Regions from separate parts of the Homo sapiens genome. Here region 2 is linked to region 1. The links are contacts of gene promoters, found by promoter capture Hi-C in human tissues and cell types (Jung and others, 2019). All regions are on one chromosome and are shown on one strand. Each heading gives the region's core, a stretch centred on a gene start or on the middle of the fragment in contact. The rest is flanking DNA. Distances are from core to core; before and after follow the strand shown.

Evidence for each region. Contacts are between HindIII fragments. The study calls those that stand out against the background at their distance.
Region 2: a contact is called between a fragment that was not itself captured here and the fragment with the promoter of TNC in region 1, in 2 of the 25 tissues and cell types used here (liver and thymus).

Annotation. Positions count from the first base shown.
Region 1 is chr9:115,116,254-115,120,528 of GRCh38, forward strand. It overlaps TNC (tenascin C), which reads right to left and starts at 1,904. Exons shown (of 28, transcript NM_002160.4): 1 at 1,729-1,904. The region is part of intron 2 of LOC124902255 (a long non-coding RNA gene); the gene reads left to right. LOC101928748 (a long non-coding RNA gene) reads right to left here. Exons shown (of 6, transcript NR_110950.1): 6 at 3,286-3,455. RefSeq lists an enhancer at 2,183-3,002. The HindIII fragment of the contact is 7,931 bases long and covers 1-4,275 here.
Region 2 is chr9:115,050,497-115,054,330 of GRCh38, forward strand. All of the region lies in intron 15 of TNC (tenascin C), which reads right to left. Among named protein-coding and RNA genes, the nearest start is that of TNC, 66 kb to the right of the region's middle. The HindIII fragment of the contact is 4,288 bases long and covers 1-3,650 here.

The sequences.
Region 1 (4,275 bases), core at 654-3,153:
TGTAGAGCTTGGCAACATCCCTTTCAATCCTTGTCCAATTTACCCTGTTTGAGCAAACCAGAGAATACTCATATTGTGCACCTTTTTCTTCCCCACAAAGCAGTCACCTTCCTGAAATGCAAGGGCCAAAGCACGCTGACTTACATCTCCTGCAAATGACTTGTATGCGCACAAAGCCAGAAACTCTTCACTTGGTTGTCTAGGACTGAATAAATCTTCTTCAGTCCTGAATTGGGCTTGCCTGGCTGGGATGGATAGTAGTTTTCCTTTCTAAAACACATATGGGAAAGCTCTGTAAAAATGGGGGAAAAAGTCTACAAAAACATGAAAAAGAGGCATTCATTCTTCAAGTGGTGCTCCCTGTCCTGCCCTCCCTCCGGACAGAAAGCTTTTCCAAAGAGTTTCCAACAGCATCGTACTTCATAGCTGTCAGCTTTAGAATCTGCAGATGCCTAAACTCAAAACCTCCTGACATTCTGGAATCAAAATTTGACATTAACTTCCAGCCCCGGGCTACTACCTTTTCTCCAACCTGTGCCAACACAACCTCCTGCTTGTAAAATACAGCCAAGTCTCAGACCTGCCAGCCTAGTGAGACACCCTCAGATTGGGTGAGATAAAAAGCGGGGGCTGGGGGCGGGCTGAGGAACAACACACAAGAAACAATCCAAGACTGGCTCAATGCCTCTTTTAACTTCCAGAGTGATGGCAGTTTTTGGCAATGACAATGATTATCCAAACTTCCAGTTATTAAGCAGTCATTGCTGATCTTTCTATACCTCATTTTCTCCTCAAAACGACAGCAGACGCTATTGTCCCCATTTTAGAGATGTGAAAACTGAGGATTAAGGAAGTGATGTATCTTTCTCAGGGTCATATGTATGGTGGTGGGGAGAATACCAAACACCTCTGGCTTCAAACCTAAGCTCTTATTCCTCTTACAACACTGATGGGTGAGAAGAACCCCTGTGTTCTTTCCAAAGTACACCAGGGGCAGCAGGGTTCCCATACCTGGGGGATGTTGTTGCTCAGATCTTTCTGTGATGAGAGGTGAGGAGGAGGAGGTGATTCTAGAGACATGTGGGACGCTGCTGGCTCTAGGCACCCCAGTAAAGCTGTTCTCCACCACTCTCTAGCTGCCTGTCAGTTATTCATCTGGCCCAGGAGCCACCTCCTCTCTTCTGTCCCCCAGCTCTCATTTCCAGGGTGAATATTTTGAGGACCAAATGAGGGAATGGGTACAAAACTCTTTGTAAACTTTATGTAAGTGCTGTTTAGATATAAACTTTTATATTCTCCCTGCACTCCTCTATCAAACTCCCTCTAACCCATCCCAGGGGCAGGCTATGAGCAAAGTCTGCCTTAAAACTCTACTGCCCTAACCCTCAAAATAAAAGATATATACAGGTGAATCAGCCAGACTAGAAGTAGGAGAGCAGTTGAAGAGAAAATTTTTACTTTTCCTCTGCAGAACAGCAGAAGATAACAACTTTACGAAAAGTTCCTTCCAAGTCTGACTATTCATAAAGTTAAAACAAACAAAATTACAAGACCAGAAAAGTCAAGGTGCATCTGATATAACCAATACACACTCCTTTTTTTTCCAGCGGTGGAAAAAAAAACCCCATATGTTTTGTAATTATAATATAAAATCACAACTCATTTGGTACCAGGAATGCAATCCTTACATCATAAGGATCTCTAGTGATGAGGGCAAAACAGACTTACCTTTCCGATGGGCGAGAGACCTAGGTCCTTGGAAGAAGTACCTGGAGTGTGGAGCTGCGGCGGTTCCCACGTGCGCGTTCCCCCGAGTTCCCCAGCAGCGCTGCCTTTGTGCCCACGGAGGCGGGGGCGTGTATCTGCGCGCGGGAGAGGCGGGTGACAGTAGGCAGGCTGTGGCCGGTGCAGCCAACTTTGGCTGGCTTATATAGCGAGCTCCTTCCTCTGTAATGGGACGCCTCGCCTCCAGACATCCTTTCCCACTTTTTCAGTTGGCGAATTAAAGGAACAGCCCTCCCAGCGGAACAGGGTTAGCTCATGAAAGACGCACTCACTCCTGGCTCTCGGCCAGGGAAGGAACCCATTTGCATACAATTTATGGCGAAAGTAGGAATTCCCGCCTGCCCGCCCCCGACCCCGAGTAGCTGTTAGTGAAATGTGATTTTTGCTTTGCTCCCCACACGGGTTTTCTAATTGTGAGACGGATGCCTGGGGAGCAAGAGGGAGTAGGATCCGCAGCCCTGGCTCCCCTCTTGTACTTGGTCAAGCTGGAAATGGGACCAGGGCTCGCCTGGGCTCTGGGCAGCAGCTGCTCAGTGGCACCTCGGAGCGAGTACAGGGACTGAGCCCAGTTCCTGGAAAGAGGAGATAAAGCCCTTCAAAAGCCTGGGGGGTTTCAGGTTTCTCTGGGCCAGCGGAGAGATAACCCAGGATTAGGTCTCAGCAGGTGGGGATCGTGCGGGACGCTCACATCAGCCCTGCTTTTCTTGTGTGGGAGCCAGCCTTGCCCAGCTGCTGGGAGGCATCTTTGTTCCAGCCCCAGTGTCCTGCAGGGCAGTAGCTTTTTGACATTGTTCATGCCCTGTGCCTGGTGTGGTCTTCTCAGCTGGGTCTCCAGGGGGAAGGATTTCTGAGGTTTTCTCTTAGTGCTGAAAGGCGTCCCCCACAGCCCTTTCTTTAAAGAAAAGCAATAATTTAAAAAGGTAACAACCTAATCCTTGAGCCATAAGCTGCGCCTTTGCTTTCCAGCCTGCCGTGGATTTCCTCCAAGCTCTGAGTCATCCGTTCGTTTGGTGGTTAGCATGCATTGAGTATCCTCAGGGCATACAGGGGCATTTAAGGGAGTGGAGAAGTAGCACTTCACCCGTGCCTAGAGACTTCTGAGCCTGCCGCAGAGCATAGTAGTTTGTGACAGTGAAGTAAAATGAAGCATTAAATGTAATTCAAAACGCAACTACCATTGAGCCCTCCCTTATTAAGTCTATAATCAGGTGCTGTGCAGGGTACTTTATGAACACTATTTTTGTTCACTATTTTTATTATATCCTTGTAACCAGTAAGTAGGATAGACACAAGTGTCTCTTTTTTACACAAGAAAACTGACGTTTAGAGAAGTAATGAAACTTTACCAAGGGAATACACCTGGGAAGTGTTTATATTACAACACTGGGCTCCAGAGATCTATTACACGTTACTGTTTAGGAATAGGGTATGATGATATTTAAACAATGTTTTATGCTGTATTAGATTGTTAACACCATTTGTGTAGAAATCACAGCCATATTTGAATATGGAAAATATATTTATTTGCTCCATAAAGCTAATTAGGAGAGATCTTTGATTTTTAAAAATTAACTACTAATAATGGAGGTCTCAATTATCCACTTATTTTCAATATTAAATGATATCATCCCCACAGTTATTATTGTTGCTGTGGGCCTCAGTTTCCCCATCTGAAAAAAAAAGCAAGACACGATTAGGTCATCCTACGGTTGCTTTGGCTGTAGTATTTTAGGATTCTCTGCTAAAGTGACCCTCCCAGACAGCAAGAAAGCCCATAAATAGTCATGTCATAAAACCGCTCATTTGAACTTTTGATCCATTTTGGCTGATTCAAATGTTGGTTGTTTGGGAAGTTTTAAATTCTGTGCTTTAGCCAAAGGATATTTCAGTAGCATGAAGCTGTGTCTCAACCAGCAGTGAGTGGTTCCTACTGAGTTAATCTCTTGGGTTAGGGATTAAAATATTAGAATAGTGTACAATATATGTCATATGGTATATAAACTATATTTGTATAGAACATATAATCAATATATTTATAATTCTATGTGAGTTTTTAAATAAGACAAGAGCGCATGCTAGAAAACTAGATAGATATGGCTTTTTCGGGGAATGTCTCAAACTCGAACTCCTCTCCCCAGTTCTTTAGGATTCTACAATCGTTGATTAGTGTCTACCACAAGTGGTATGGTCAATCACAGGGAAACTAAGCCAAATATGACCAGGCTGGCCCTCAAAGCAGGAAAAGGCTAGCAGAGGTGACAAACAAGAATACTATTATGGGTTAAGTTAACAACTATCATATAAGTGTATTCTGATAACATAGAGAAGAGATGATTTATGCATTTTTAGGAGAGGCTACTTGTAAAAGGCATTTTCTCCAAAAAGCTATGTGGCATCTTAAGCTTTTTGGCATTTGAGTAAGGAGTGCCCAGACGAGGACGTGTTTTCCATCCCTGTACTGTTCGCAGCCTCTGTTTCTGGTAGATGGGT
Region 2 (3,834 bases), core at 257-2,756, 66 kb before region 1:
ATGTTCTGCATTTGAAGACTCATCTGAATGATTTAATTCACATTAGGTAACTGGATAGGAAAAAATACTCATTTTTTAATCTTACATTAAAACACATCCAAAGTTCTCTTAAAAACGAGAGGGAGTTCATGATTGCATAGGTCTATTGTTCTATCTAGCCTTATTGGTTATTTTTAAGAAAGCCACTTTCCTAATAATGTTGGGAGACAGCAGAAAGAACCTAGCATGTATAAAATTCCTACTGGATGCTAGGCAGTTAAATTTCACCAACTCTATTTAATCTATGAGACAAGGCTCCCAGAAGTGCCTGTGGTATCCTCTCTCCATGCATAAGGAAATTAGGGTTCAAACAAGTTAAGAACTTGCTAAAATTATGTAGCTAAAAAGCTGTGGGAGAGGTTTAGAAACCACAAAAGCTTGATCTCAAAATCCTCACTCTTCCAGGACACCATGCTGCCTATAATTAAATATTTAATTGTACTAATTGACATGTCTTAGTGATGGCAATTTAGACCCTGGGAGAGACCTGGTTTAATGTGAAAATCAGATGGCAAAGTCCGTCTTCTGAAAATTATCACTAATGAAAAGGAAGAGACTTCTAAATATTTTCTGAGGCTTTTTGGGCTAGAATTTAGTAAACTGACACCATGTGCAGCCTTTGCCATTGAAGTTTTTGCTGCCACCATTTGGCAGCATTTGCCAAATTGAACATTGGCAAATGTTCAAGAAGTCAAGTTGAGTGAATGGGTAGGGCTTAATTAAACTTGAAATTTATCTGCCATCTGAGGTTGAACCTTCATCAATCTTCCAACCCCGATCACATCTAAAAAAACCAGAGAAGTTAATGACTTATCCTAGGTCATACATCTGCTAGGTGCCTAAGCTGAGATATACAACCAGGTCTTCCGACTCCAAGTTCTACGTTCTTTCCATACCCAAAGCCAACCCCAATCAGTGATGGCAATCCTGAGGGATAAGGAGGATTAGTGGAGAAGGTTCAGCGTCTCTTTTCTAGGTGATTTTTCTTTTTTCTTTTTTTTCTTTTTTTTTTTTTTCTGACAGTACTGGTAAATGCATTTTTTTTTTAATCAAAAGAAAAAAAGGAGACAGGAATTTCAAATTAGCTGCATCTAGCTGCATCTGTGTTGTCAGTTTTAAGAATAATTATTTTTTAAAGAAAAAGATGGTTATACTTTTGTCACATATATGAACTGCGTTACCTAGCATGATTTATGAACAGGATTTCGATCTTAGGCCTTTACTAACTTAGGAGTCACTTTTTAGGCAGAATCTCTAAACTAGGGATAAAACAGCCAATAAAACTGGGCACAAAAAACCCTAAAAGCTTTATACAACTCTTGAGAACGTTCTCTCCACTTCCTAAGAGCAGCTGTGAAAGTCCTCTCCTTTATAATAGTATCTGCTTTCTCTTTACTTAGAAGTTTACATATATTATCTTGGCTATCATGAGTAATGTATTGTAACCTGTGTCTGTCAATGGATGAATGGATAAAGAAAATGTGGTGTATAGATAGATCATATTTATATATAAATATATACATTCCATATGTGTGTATATATACATATATATATATATACACATATATATATAATGGAATACTTTATAGCCTTAAAAAAGAGGAAAATTCTGTCATTTTCAACAACACGGATGAACCCAGAAGACATTGTACAGAGTGAAATAATCGAGGCACAGAAAGACAAATACTGCGTGATCTCATTTGTGTAATCTAAGAAAGCTGAACACATAGAAGCACAGAGAAGACTGGTGGTTACCGGTGACTGGGGTTGGGGAGATGAAGAAAGGGGAGATGTTGGTCAAGGAGTACAAAGTTCAGTTAGACAGAAGGAATAAGTTTTAGTGATCTACTGCACAGCATGGTGACTGGCCATAGTTAATAATAACATATTGAATACTTCAAAATTCCTAAAAGAGTAGATTTTAAATGTTCTCACAGCACAATAAATAAATAAATAAATAAATAAATAAATAAATAAGGTGAGGTGATTGATATGTTAATTAGGTTGATTCAATCAATCCACAATGTATATGTATATCAAAACAACACACTATTCTCCATAAATATATACAATTACTATTTGTCAATTAAAAATAAGAGAGTACACATTTGCAGTGAAGATTGTATTTTTGTTGAATTTTCCTTTAAGATGACTTATCTCCTTTTCTCTCTGTGTTAGACAAGTGAGAACCTCTGATTGAGTACCTGTAATGACAAAGGCAGTGAGGGGTCTGGTGGGATCCCCAGCCAAGGTGGTTCCTGCCACACTGACGTCATAGCCAGTGTTCTCCACCAAGCCTGTGATGTGAGCTTGCTTTGCATCTCCTGAGACTGTGAATTGCTGGGACTCATGCAGTGAGTGAGCGTCACTCACATTGATAACAATCTTTGCAAAAAGCCCAGCTTGAGTGGTCCATGACATGTTGAAGCTTTTTGGAGTAATATTGCTAAAGATTAGCGTGCCCAACTGTGGCTTTGGTTCTAAAGAAGGAATATGGGCAGAGAGAAAGAGAGAGACATTATTAGAGGAAGCAGTGGATTTTTCCAGAATGTAGCCATAGAACATGAAAGCATCAATATCTCCAAATACATACAGAAGAGACAGTATGTTAGGCTGTGTCTACACCTGCATTGAATATGATGATAGAAAATATATTGCTTTCTCTGCAGGTGTATATTTGTGTTCTTTATTTTTATTTTATTTTTTAGATCTGTGTTCTTTTAAAGCATAAACACCACCATTTGCTAGTCATGTATGAAGAAGAGTAGACAAGCCATTAGAGTGGTAGATTGGAGTAACGTGAAGGGTATTAAGGCTACATTTTCTAAAGTTTGTACTGGGGACACAAGCCCTGTAAGATGTTCCAAGAAAAGACAGCTTTATGATTAAGTATGCATGGTAAACACCGAATATTATGTCTTACCATAGAGATTCACAAGGTGGGTTTGCATTTTAAAGGCTCTGACAGGCTGGTTCTGTCAGTAAACCTGTTTAATTTTGTTTGGCCCAAATTTCATAAACTTATTGATCAATGTATACCCTATCTGAGGAATATCCTTTGAACATCTCAAGGAGCTGGTGTTCCATTGAACATGTTTTAGAAAATGCTTCTTTGGAGTTTCCTCATTTAGTATTCTTTTTTAGTATCTACTGTTTGCACAAATTAAAGGCTAATACCCATACAAGAGAAATTTTTACAGTACTTAATATGCATTGTAGGAAAATCTATATTTTACCATTTAATACCGTAAAGGTGAAGATGGCTTCCATTCAAAATTCCCAGTGAATGCAAAGGTGAAAGAAAAACTTGAAGTTAGGCATTGAATTTTCTGCTTAGGAAACTCAATTATTGGATAATTTGGACAGATAGATGGTTTCCCTGAGGTTAAGTATCTCTTTTCTGTTAAAGTCTAGACATTCAGTTTTGAGAGCAACTCATTTAATGTTAAGGGGTCTATATGGCTAGATGTTTATGGGGCTGGCCTCCTAAATGCTCATTTATCAAATAAAACTAATTTTAAAGTAAGTGCGGCCCAGACTGTATTTTAGAGAGAGGCAACAGTACTGGAGGATTCAGATATTAAGATCAGGATTTAGGGTTGGGAAGAGGCACAATATTTCTTCCAAGGACTTGGGAGTTATTTTGCTTCAGCTCCAAAGTTTGGAGGAAAGAAGGGGCTCATTTGGATAAACTTTAATGGCACAATTATACAGCATAATTCGATGTCATAAAATCTCTAAGAACAAAAAGGATTTGGTTCAGAAGCAGAATATAGCCATTAGCATTGACATGGG